2 separate regions of the Homo sapiens genome follow, and region 1 is linked to region 2. The links are contacts of gene promoters, found by promoter capture Hi-C in blood cells and fetal thymus (Javierre and others, 2016). All regions are on one chromosome and are shown on one strand. Each heading gives the region's core, a stretch centred on a gene start or on the middle of the fragment in contact. The rest is flanking DNA. Distances are from core to core; before and after follow the strand shown. Region 1 overlaps ENAH (ENAH actin regulator). Region 2 holds the start of ENAH (ENAH actin regulator).

Region 1 (6,125 bases), core at 2,933-5,432, 160 kb after region 2:
ATGACAGGAAGGCACTGCTTTCCTCAACACTGTGATCTGACCTGTGACAAGTCTGTACTATCCACTATGTAAATGGCTCACAAGTCAATTGCAAACAAACTGAATGTACAAATCTTAGTGCTGGTGCTGAAATCTCTTCAGAATAGTCATCATGATTTAAAAGTTTGTTTAAAAATTTGCAAGCATCAAGTGTCAATCAAAACTGAAGATGAAACACTAATGAATGTTGAATTCTCATGCTTTTAGGTGTACTTCCTTTTTAGAATTTTCAGTTTTCTGCTATTTTTACCGTAACTATTTCGTTTAAATTTGTTTCATTTAAGTTTCCTACACGCTAACTTCGTTTGTGCGATTGAAATAAAATTGCAGTATATATATGTTGCTTGTTTGTGACACTTAGATAATCTTCTGAAATAATTTGTTTTAAAGTAAGTTATATTGGATGTGAAAAACACCTTTTAAAGTCCAAGACTTTACTACTTAAAAGTTTACATGTCACGTCACTATTCTTTACAGATTTCATAGAAGTCGTGAATACTAAGTAATGTATACAAAAGAAATATGTGATGATGTGTCTACTTTTTGTTTGAAATAACTGTTGGGTGTTCCCTCTTCTTATTTTCTCTCTGCCCACCTTGACACAGTAACTTCCTCTTATAGTCAAGATGATGATTAAGTGTTTAATTTTTATTCCATTTTGTTCTGCAACACGTTCAGGTACTTAAAACTCATTCATGCAGTTAGAATTATCCTTTATGTAGTTTGCATGGTAAAGGACATTGTGTGGTAAAGGGCATTATTGAGTAATGAATTTTAAGTATAGCAAAATATGTATAGTGTTTATACATGATGCTGATTTCTTAAAACCTACATATAAGCAGTAGTACTTTTTCTCTATTATAAAGTATTAATTTTGAGTTCCATTTTATAATTCTGATGTCTTCATTAGAAATACAAAAATACAATCCTTGTATTTTTTCTTTGACCAGACCCAAATTTTCCCCTTCCCCCCTCCATTCTCCTCTCCACTTCTCGTGGACCGCGTGTTCCCAATATTCATTAACATTTGCAGCCATTACAGAGTTACAGTTGTAAAATTTTCAGCTGTTTTTTTTTTTTTTTTTTTGCTCTAGCCTGTCTCATGTTCTTGCTTCTCTTCATATGTAAGTCAGTATTTTTGTCTACAAATTAAAAGTCACTTGTCATTCAAAAATGAGTTAAGTAACATGATAATCTTTTAAATTTACCTAGCTACAACTTTTATGTCTCTTGTAAATTTATATATACTTTCAGTGCCATTGTGAAGAATTGGCCTTTTAATTCTAAGTAGTATTACCCTATGAAGCACAGTGTGCAAAGGTATGCTACAAGGTCTCTTTAATTCCTGTGTGGCCATTATAATTTTATAACACCATTACCCTTTAAATTCTACCGATTATAAGCAGCGTAAAAGTAACTATATAAAGCAAACATCGCAAAGGAACTCTGCAGGAGCTCTTAATTCCTTTATGTAGCTATCATAAAATTCACTTTCCTGAAGACATTTACTCTCATTCACTTCCAAACTCCAAACCTTTTTCTGGTAGCACCACTTTTGTTTTTAATAGAAAGATGAGTTCATATCTGTACATCTCTCCAAAGCTCTAAGGAATGAGAAAAGGATCCTAGTATATTGAAATTACTGATGTTTAATACCTCTGCCTTTTCACTAAAAGCCATTTAATATTTTTAAAGTCAAAACTTGACATACAGGTATTTATAAGGAATCTCCATGACTCTGAAGGAATGAAATTGATGTAGGTAGCTTTGGCTATGTAAAGACATAGTAGAGGACAATTACTTAAAGAAGAGTTTTCTTTTGAGGATTTGTAGATTTGACTAAGCAGCTGAAGTCAGTAACCCCTCAAGAAAGTCCGTTTATAGAAGCCAAGAACTGTTGGAGGTCTGTGATGCAGGTTTTTCTGTTCCCAACATCAAAAGCTGTGGATTATTTGGTGTGTTCCCCTTTATGTTATCTCTCGATAATTTTTGAGACATCAAGATTTTTTAAAATATCAATACTGGAAAGATGAAACCTTCAAATTAAAACCTAAAATTGATTAGAAAGAAAAGTAAAATATTAATGCAGTAAATTTAGGATGGTTACAGATACTCACCATCAACATAAATAAATGGAGTTCTAGGATAAATTATTTGTGGAATACTAATGGTCAAGTCACATAAGAGTAAAATCTTTTGGTGAGGAGACACATTTGACAACTGCTAAAGAATTAACTAAATTTGTCTTTCTAAATAGTTTTCTTTATAAAGTAACAGAAACATTGTAAAAGGATAAATGACTGTCATAATGACTTAGGATGTTGTAAGAATGTCTGCCACATTTATTGGTTATTTCTGTTGAAATCTGAAGGAATCGATACATCTGAAAATTGAGAAAGGGAAATAGGACTGTCCCCGTTACAGATACTCTGTGATGCACACAACCTTCTAAACGGAAGTGTTAGTATCATTTAAAGCACATAGTAGGCCTTGAGTATTTGCAGATTAACATGCAGAAAAAATCAAAGATGAAGCCCCAATTAAGTGTTTGAACCAAAGAATCACAGTCACTGAGCTGCACCCCCGTTCTGTGAAGCATGTTAAATACTCATAAAGAGCAGAGAGCAGGGCCCGTAGACGCTTCTGGTGTAGGACACAGGAATTCTAGGCAGAGGGAGAAAATTAGGGGCCCCAGTTGGTGGCTGAGAGTAAAAAGAATATACCATTTGAGTAGTGCTGTTCTTTTTCCTCAGTTTTTAAAGACATATAATTCCTAGTAGTTAGGACATCTAAATAGCTCGGTAAACTGGTCAGAGGCGGGAGGATTGCTTGAGGCCAGAAGTTTTGAGATCAGCCTGGGTAACAGGGAGACTCATTTCTACAAAAAAATTTAAAAATTTAGGCCAGGCATGGTGGTGCACACCTGTAATCCCAGCTACTCAGGAGACTGAAGCGGGAGGATCACCTGAGCCCAGGGAGGACGCGGCTGCAGTGAGCCGTTATCATGCCACTGTACTCCAGCCTGGGTGACAGAGCGAGAACCTGTCTCTAAAAAAAAAAAAAAAAAATTCTAAGAGAATATAGCTTTTCATAGAAATTATTAGAAAAGCTTACATATTTCATTAGAGAGCCCAGTTTGTTAGACTACATTTATTCCGTAAAAGTTCTATATACAAATGACAACCCATAGTTTATCATGTAAATCTGATTTAACTGTTCCCTTCAATTCCAAGAAAGATTTCTTCAGCAGTAGATGACAATTCTAAAAGCATAAAGAAATAACTAATAAAGGAGATGGATGATGTTATAGGTTGGTTTGGTTGGGTTTTAGTAAATAGTTATTCTTCTAAGAAGGCTTAGAAAATCGAGAATTGAATAGTTGGTACTTTGAATTCCATAGGAAAAAGCACTCAGAAGAAAAAGTCTACATTGGCTAGTGTTTAGATTGAGAGTTAATTTTCCCATCAAGTCCAAAAGTTTCCATCCAAGTCTATAGAAACTGAGAGAAAAGGTTCTTGGCTTACACTTAAAATACACATTGTTGCAACCATATAAGAGAGATACATTACAGAACGCTTTTAAAAATTTGGTCTCTTAAGCGCCTAACAGTCCATGCTTTAGTCACATCTGTGAAACCTCTTTTCTTTTTTTCTTTTTCTTTTATTTTTTTTTTTAAAGATTAAAGGCATTTTAAAAATAAATGTTTCATGGCCGGGCATGGTGGCTCACGCCTGTAATCCCAGCACTTTGGGAGGCTGAGGTGGGCAGATCACCTGAGGTCAGGAGTTTGAGACCAGCCTGGCCAACATGATGAAACCCCATCTCTACTAAAAATACAAAAAAATTGGCTGGGCATAGTGGTGGGCACCTGTAATCCCAGCTCTTCGGGAGGCTGAGACAGAAGAGTCGCTTGAATCCAGGAGGTGGAGGTTGCAGTGAGCTAAGACCGCGCCACTGTACTCCAGCCTGGGCGACAGAGCGAGATTCCATCTCTAAATAAATAAATGTTTTTCAACGTGTTTTATGTGAGAAATACCAGCTTTTCATTATTACTACCAGTTGATCTCAGGTGTCACTTGGTTGGTTCTGCTGACCGAGGCACTGGGCATTTTAAATATGGAGTTTCCCTCCACCCATTGATCAAGTCTGAGGTTTGTCCATCCTTGGTGGCAGGCTAGCTTAACCATGGATTCACAAACCCCATTTGATTGTCGTAAGTCATAAGGCCACCCCAGTGCCAGTGGTTGGGCATCACAGTGAGTCTGAGGTGATGAATTTGAGTTAGCTGTAGGCTAGTTCCGCAACTCAGCAATAGCCCATGGATGGTTGGTAAAAGACGTTGACTTTGCCACTTAAATTTCCAGGAGAAGAATAGCTTATAGTTTATCTGAGGAAAGTAATTGGGAAGGCTTAGATATTGAGAAGAAAGCCCTGTTAAAATCTAGGTAGCATTTCCTTTCTTCTTTATTACTAGAGGGATGGGAGGTTCAGGCCTGAGTCAGGACTTTACAATTTGGTGTCCTTCCCAGAGGTACTTTGGGCTTGATCATTTTAAGTTTCAATTGCAAAAAAAAATTTTTGACGGAGTGTTGCTCTGTCACTCAGGTTGGAGTGCAGTGGTGCGATCTCGGCTCACTGCAACTTCCCCCCCCTGGGTTCAAAGGGATTTTCCTGCCTCAGCCTCCCAAGTAGCTGGGACTACAGGCGCGTGCCACCATGCCCGACTAATTTTTGTATTTTTAGTAGAGATGGGGTTTCACCATGTTGCCCAGGCTGGTCTTGAACTCCTGAGCTCAGGTGATCTGCCCGCCTCGGCCTTCAATTGCAGAAGTTTTTGAAGGGAGAATATTTGATCCTCACATAAAATGTCCTTGTTTCTGAAAGAAAACATGGTAAAAATTGTTATTGAGTCCATGTCTTTGCCACCTTGTTGGACTTGATTTCCCTTTCTCTGTGTTCCTCCCGCCCTCAGTCTCTCTCAGTCTGTCCTTTTTTGTGTGTGGAGTTGTGGGCAGGTCATTGGACTGGGACTGACTTTACCAGTTTTCAGGCTGTGGGGCTAGTCAGTCATTCTCTCTGAGCCTTCTACCTCTAAAGTTGAGTTCTTTTTTTAAATTCTTTTTGTTTTGTTTTTATTTTTTCCTTGCCACTATACAAGCAAGGATAGATAAAGCTTTTTATTATTATTGTTATTATTATTATTTCGAGACAGTCTCGCTCTGTCATCCAGGCTGGAGTGCAGTGGTGTGATTTCAGCTCACTGCAACCTCTGCCTCCCGGGTTCAAGCGATTCTCCTACCTCAGCCTCCTTAGTAGCTGGGACTACAGGCATGCGCCACCACACCCGGCTAATTTTTGTATTTTTAGTAGAGACAGGGTTTCACCGTATTGGCCAGGCTGGTCTCGAACTCCTGACCTCAGGTGATCCACCCACCTTGGCCTCCCAAAGTGTTGGGATTACAGGCATAAGCGACCGTGCCCATCCCCGATAAAGTTGAGTTCTGAATTTCCTCTTTCACTGTATTCTCGGCAGCTACTGGTTGGTTTATTCTTTTTTTTTAATCTTTTTTGGTTTATTCTTCTTTTGATCTTTGAAGAGAAGGAGAAAAAAGATCTGAGTTTGGCTCTCCCATCTTAAGTGCAGCTTTTAGTTGTTTTATAGTCATAGACGCTATTGCACTGGACAGCATGCATCCTGGATGTAAACAATGCGGAAAAATCAATGGAGTGACCATCTTGGGGTCAGTGGTGTTGCATAAAGCACCAGTGGTGTGCTGTTCTGTGTCAGTTTCCTCTGCGCCACGTGCTTTCACAGTTTGAATTACCAGCATCTCTGTGGTGGCTTCAGTACATTCTCCATTGTGCTTCAACCTGGAAGCACATTCTGCCGTTCAGAAAGACTGATTCCAATCATGTAATGGGACCACACGAGATCCATGCTCCAATTATATGAATAGCAGAAGGTCCATTTGACTCTTGTAGTTCAAGAGCTGTTTCTAAGTAAACAGACTTTCCAGAGCTCGATGAAGTGAAGAAGCCCTTCTTTCAATTCCTGGGCAGAATTCAGTGGTTTTCATATCATCTGA
Region 2 (6,105 bases), core at 248-2,747:
AATGGGCTACACAGTTCAATTATAGACAAATCAGGCATTGACCACGGATCACTATAACCTGTCTTTTCATTTGGAAGTGTACATTATCCCAACCTTCCTAACTATCTTTTGAATGGTACCTGCATCTTAAAACAAAACACCAAAACTTTTGAATGGATTCCTGGAGTCATGGTAGGTCCTCCATTTTGGATGAGATCCTTCAGCAATAGGATCCCTGTAGCAACAACCCTTTTCTATCCTCCTCACCTTTTATACAGAAAGTACATCCCTGTCTTCCGGACTAAAAGGGGGCCGTAATTCGTACAGTTAAAAATTTTATTATTGGATTTGTTTTTAGATTTAAAAAAAACCGAAAACAAAACCTTCAACAACGATCAATTCTGGCTTCCTGGATGCCCTCCTCCCCGACTTGACTTGAAATGAAATTGCCTCGCCAGTATTTTATATCTACTTTTTAAGGGAGGTGACTTCAAGACCATTGGGAATGACGAAAAATTTAAAATTATCATTAGTTCCTCTCTCTCCCCGCCCCCTGCCCGGGATTCCCTCTTTGCTAATGACGCTGGAAAGCGGCTCCACTGGCTGCGTTTCTCTTCTTCCACTCTTGCGGCAACACACTGTTCCGCGCGCGTCTCCCGGCGACTGCGTTTCCCCGAGAGTCGGCTGCGTTCGTTTGGGGATGAAGTCATCCCTATACCTAGTGTGCACATCAACTCGTTCCATCGGCGCAGCACGCTGGGATTCCTCGGGAAGAAAAGGAGCGAAGGGAACAATGATGACCATATTTTCCATTTATATGCCCCTCCTCAACTCCGCAGGAATCGCTGGGCGCAGCCGCGGCGAGGGCGGGCAGTTGGGCTGACCGGGATGCCCCCCGATTCCCTCATCCCCGTCCTGAGACCGCAACAGGGCGGGCTGAGCACTCGCCCCGCGCGAGGGCACCCGGCCGCGAGCCGACCCGGAGTCTCCTGGCCCGGCCCTGTGCCCAGTCACGCGTCCAAGCTCCCCACGCCGGTGCCTACGGGTCTGGCGCCCAGGAGGTCTCGGCGCCTCGGTCTCCGCACCGTGGCCGTGGGGGAGGCCTCGGAGCTCCCCAAGCCTCTGGGGAGCGGGAGGCGACGGGGAGGGGGCCGACGGTCAAGGACAACCACGGGCGAGGAACCCCGGCCGACAACTGGCCGGAGGTGTTGGGCGGGAGGGGGGGGTGGTGGCCCGCCCGAATCCCAGAGGGGTGCAGGGGGCGGGGTAGGGAGGCAACAAAGAGCCTCTCTCCGCCGCCGCCGCCGTCGCGCTCGCTCTCTCCCAGCCTCGCTCTCCGCAGTCCGGCGGGGGCCCGGCCGCCGGCGCGGGGGAGTGCGCCCGGCCCCCCGCCTCCCCTTTCCTCCCCTCCCCCCGCACCGCCCCCTCGCCCCCGGGGGAAGGAGGGGAGGAGGGCGGCGCCTGCGTGTTCCTCCGCCGCGCGCCCCGCCTCCTCCCGGGTTCCTCGCGGCGATCCCGACTCTCCTCCCGCGGCTGCAGCAGCTGCCGGTTGCACACGGCCTCGGCGGCGGCGCGGCGAGCGCGGGCCTGTGGAGCGGCGGCCGGGCGCGCGGCCCCGGCGGGCACCCCTCAGAGGGCGGCCGAGGAAGCTCCGGGAGGAGGAGCAGGACCACGAGGAGGTGGGAGGCGGCGGCCGCCTGGGGACCAGCTCCGCGCCTCGGCCTCTCCGCCCCCTCCCCAGCCTTTCTCTCGCCCTCTTCTCCCACACTCCCGGCCGGCGCCTCGGCTTTGTGCGAGGAGATGGTGTAGCCCCCTGGCCGCCGAAGGAGGAGCCGGACACTTGTCTCCCGTCTCCGAGCTGCTCCCCACCCCTGGAGGAGAGACCCCCCCCTCGGCTCGGCGCCTTCTGCGTCTCCCGGCTGGTGGGGAAGCCTCTGCGCCGCCGGCACCATGAGGTGAGGGGCGCGCGGGGCGGGGGCCGGGCGGGCCATTGTGCCGCGGGAGCCGCGACCCCCGTTCTCCTCGGACCCCGCCTTCCCTCTCCCGGCCCGGCGCGTCTCCCCTGGTCTCCGGTCTGTTCCTCCCCCCTCCGCCTTTTGTCCCTTCCAATTTCTCTTTCTTTCTTGGAAACCTCCCCAACCCGTGTGGTTTGGGGGTCTCGCTTCATCGTTCTCTCATTTTTCCTCAAATGCTCTTCTTTCACCCAGGATTTCCCTTCCTAAATTTAATTTGCGCCTGGCTCCCTCCCCCAAGCCTTTGCAAGCGAAACCCGGGAGATGGGGAGGGGTTCGAGAATCGAAGCGTGCGTGTTGCTGGGAAACAGGTATTTTTTCGTATATATGTAAAAATTTCATGCACTTTTGCCTCCGAACTCTCGTGTTTAATTAAAAAAGGAAGAAAAGTTTGAAAGGTCTGAAATCTCTGCGGGTAATAAAGTGCCTCTGGTAGGGGTAGGTGAAGGAGCTGTGAAAGGTGAAATTTCACGATGGTGGGGGAAGGGAAAGAATTGATTAGGTTCACGTGGTGGGGGCAGTAAAAGACTGGGATAAGTAAGTTGGTAGGGGTGTGTAAGCGGGGGCGGGGAAGGGATCTGTTTGGAAAAGCCTTTTCTCCCCTTTCTCTGTAGCAGCCTGTGTTGCATTGCAGCAGCTGCTTTTTCCCTTTGCTCTGTACTCAATAAAACAGGAGCTAAATTATTTTTGCGGCCCCGAAGAATTGAATGTACTGTCGTAAAATATTTTTTTAATTGATACGATGAAACATATGGTATGATATTTTTCTTTATTGTTTCTCAAATTGTGTAGGAGAATAAACCGTGATGTGGTGTGTCATTCATTGGAGATTTTTTTTCCAGCCTTTCCTAAACCTGTTCTGTGTCCATAACCTTCTCTTTTCGGATTGGTGCAAGACTTCGTGTGAAATGGGACTTGGTAGACTGAAGGCTGATCCATTCTGCGTTATCATCCTTAAAGGCCTTCCTTTTGGGTTAAACAATTGTGGATAAAGTAAATTACTCCATTTCTCTCTCCTGGAAGAGATAGTCTTACAGTTCATTTGGATTTGAATCTCCTTTGTGTTAAAGATTAATGGCCAACCGTTGCTAAGACCTTTATAATGTAATACAATGAGATTTGAATGATATAATCTACAAATTCCTTCGCTTTGGCAAGAAAATGTCATGTCATTGGAATTCTTTCTCAATTTCGGTAGTTTCCATTTTAAACTTTGCTTTTCATTTTTTTTTTCTATCAAGGTTAAACGTGTTTCCATTTTGCTTTTATATATATATTGTGATATATCTTTGTTGAATTTTTACTTAGGCTTACTGTGAATTTGAATTTTTTTTTCTGATTCCAAGTTACCTGTATTTATGATGGCCTTAAAGAGTGAGTTTAATGTGGTGTCTCTAGGCGACTGACCCCTTTTCCCTTGATGATTTCACACAAGTTATTTTCAAATATAAGCGATGAGTTTAAATAGTAATTATAGCATACGAACCAAAAAACACAATCTTTGTAAAATATGGCTTGAAAACTTTGAGTCGTATGTTTGAGCATGACTTCTTTTTTTTTAAATCAAGTTACTGATGTCCTTAAACTCAGGAACTATAATATACATACTGTTATATCTTGTAATATTATATGTTGTTGGTTTCTGTTTTAGAGATCTAATGCCGTAGGGATCTTGCAGACCAGAAGTTATCAGTTGTTTCAAACTTTGGGTAAACTTATCTTAACATTGAGAAATATAAAACAGGGAAAGTTTTTTTTTTTTTTTTTTTTTTTTTTTTTTAAATGCAGTCTTGCTCTCTTGCCCAGGCTGGAGTGCAGTGGCGCGGTCTCGGCTCACTGCAACCTCCGCCTCCTGGGTTCAAGCGATTCTCCTGCCTCAGCCTCCCAAGTAGCTGGGATTACAGGCGGGTATCACCACGCCCGGCTAATTTTTTGTATTTTTAGTAGAGACGGGGTTTCACCATGTTAGCCAGGATGGTCTCCAACTCCGGACCTCGTGATCCACCAGCTTCGGCCTCCCAAAGTGCTGGGATTACAGGCGTGAGCCACGGTGCCTGGCCGAAAGTGGGTTATTTTTAAATAAAAACAGGAATAGTTGTCTAATTCAAAGATTGTGAACTAAAAAAAAGTTACCGTTTTGGGTATTCAGTGAAGTTTAATCACTGTCATGTATAGATGTCAGTCTGTCACAGGTAAATTATGTCTTCACTTGAAAATTCCTTTTCTAATAAAAAGTAACTTCTGTTTTTCAAGCTCTTTTCTTGCTCTGTTCCTTATGAAGTGTAGAGAGAGAGGAACCACGCTGATGTTTTCCAGTAACGTAAATATAGAACTTGGTACACAGGTCTGAAAAGTTTATTTAAGCAGTCTACAGTAATTCTTCGTAGGCTAATTTTGAATAAGAGCAGGAAAGAGGGTCAGCTTTTCACTTTGGAAGGTACTGGATTATTTGGCAGGTGGTTAGGTAGTACTTAGATTTGCTTAGATACCTGTAAAAGTGAGATTGGTATGGGATAAAACGTTCTTGTGCTGCTTGCAAAAGTCTTTGGAATATTCTTTGGGATATTTTGGTGCTTAGGAAGTGCTTTTCAGGTTATATTAATATATGCTTAGTCTTCATGCTTTCAAGTCCTGTGGGACGTTAATGTTAGTCTTTTAAGTTGAGTCCTTTTTGGTTATATTAAGAGGTAGTTCTGATGTTTCAAAGGCCATCCAGAAATAGGAATGCCTGAACAGGAATTTCCAATTAAGTCGGTCAGAATCCTGAACAGAGGATATGATGAATATATTACGGTATAACTATTAGTGGTATCTGTCAGATGACTTTAATTTTAGGAATAGCATGATCACTGTGTATAATCTTATACAGAAGAGAACTGAATAATAGTTTATGTTCCTGAAACGGTCATAGGCATTTGAGTAAAATGCAGTATATAGATTTACTTGTTAATATTTTGCTTAAAGATGAATATTTAAAAAATGAAAAAGCATATTACTTATACAGGACAGTGGAAAGGTTGAGACCAAAAAGCTGGTACTTTTAGTGTCCTGTCTGTTTAGTTCTATTCTTATTTTTCATTTATGCAATGTTTCAAAAGTGTAAGATGCTTTGTGATTAAAGTGTGCGTGTATGTATGTGAATGCGTTTGTATGCATGTACATACAGTGTGTGCCTTTTAAGTGCATTTTTAAAATTAGTTGGTTTGTTACTTAAGATTTTTTTTTTTTTTTAACTGAAAGAGGAGCTTGTCTGATCTAAAATAGTTGCATGTAGCCTGGTGGCTAAGGAGAGCTCAGAAGATTTTGTATTTACATTCTTGGATCCGTATTAAAATAGTCCAGGCTTCCACTAGCTACTCTGACTTTCTCATATAAAAAGGTATAGTAGGGTTATGAGGATTTGTCCAAGCCATTTACTAGCTGGGTGACCTTGAAGTAATCACATTATTTCACTGATGCCTTTTTAAAAAATATGTAAAAATAGAGATAATTCTTAACTGAGTAGTGAGGATCAAATGATAATAGAAGGTACTTTATACACTGGTAAGCCTTAAATTTATGTTACTCCTCCTGTTTCCAGGCCTATTTCTATGTTAGACTATTTGGGTAAAACTTCTGGGCAGTGGGCTCCACCTTGCGACCTTATTTAGCTCAAGGATGTCAAAAAGACCACATTTTTATTATTTTATAGGTGAGGAAGCTGTTCCCTTCTTCTGTGTTTCCTTCCTTAGGGTCTTTGAAGTATCTTTATTTGTGGTAATCATAAATTTTATATACATTTCAGAGTGTGGTACAATCAAGGGTCAGAAGATCCAGGTTTTATATGCTGACCTGTTAATTGAGTAAACTGGTAAAAAAAAAAAAAAAAAAGGAGATAATCTTATATTTCACAGGATTGTTTTGTGAAGTGTCAAGTGAGATATCCATGAAAGGATACAAATAGTAGTCTCTTTGTTCCCATGGGTCTTCATTTATACTCGTAGCTGTTGGATGTGTGACTTTCCCACAGAGGTTTATTTTAGGAGCAAGAGCCAAATCTTCATTTTTTGAATGTCAGTATTGTAGGAATTTACTAAGTGAATAAATCTTGAAGAAGAGTGTGGATTAATAGAGA

What was found. Contacts are between HindIII fragments. The CHiCAGO score rates a contact against its expected background, and 5 or more counts as called.
Region 1: a fragment that was not itself captured here is called in contact with the fragment with the promoter of ENAH in region 2 in 1 of 17 cell types (endothelial precursors); the score reaches 6.3 in endothelial precursors.

What each region holds. Positions count from the first base shown.
Region 1 is chr1:225,489,066-225,495,190 of GRCh38, reverse strand. It overlaps ENAH (ENAH actin regulator), which reads left to right. Exons shown (of 14, transcript NM_018212.6): 14 at 1-6,125. Among named protein-coding and RNA genes, the nearest start is that of LINC02765, 24 kb to the right of the region's middle. The HindIII fragment of the contact is 2,064 bases long and covers 3,151-5,214 here.
Region 2 is chr1:225,648,515-225,654,619 of GRCh38, reverse strand. ENAH (ENAH actin regulator) reads left to right here and starts at 1,497. Exons shown (of 14, transcript NM_018212.6): 1 at 1,497-1,934. The coding sequence starts at 1,930. RefSeq lists a silencer at 1,518-1,647. The HindIII fragment of the contact is 13,770 bases long and covers 1-6,105 here.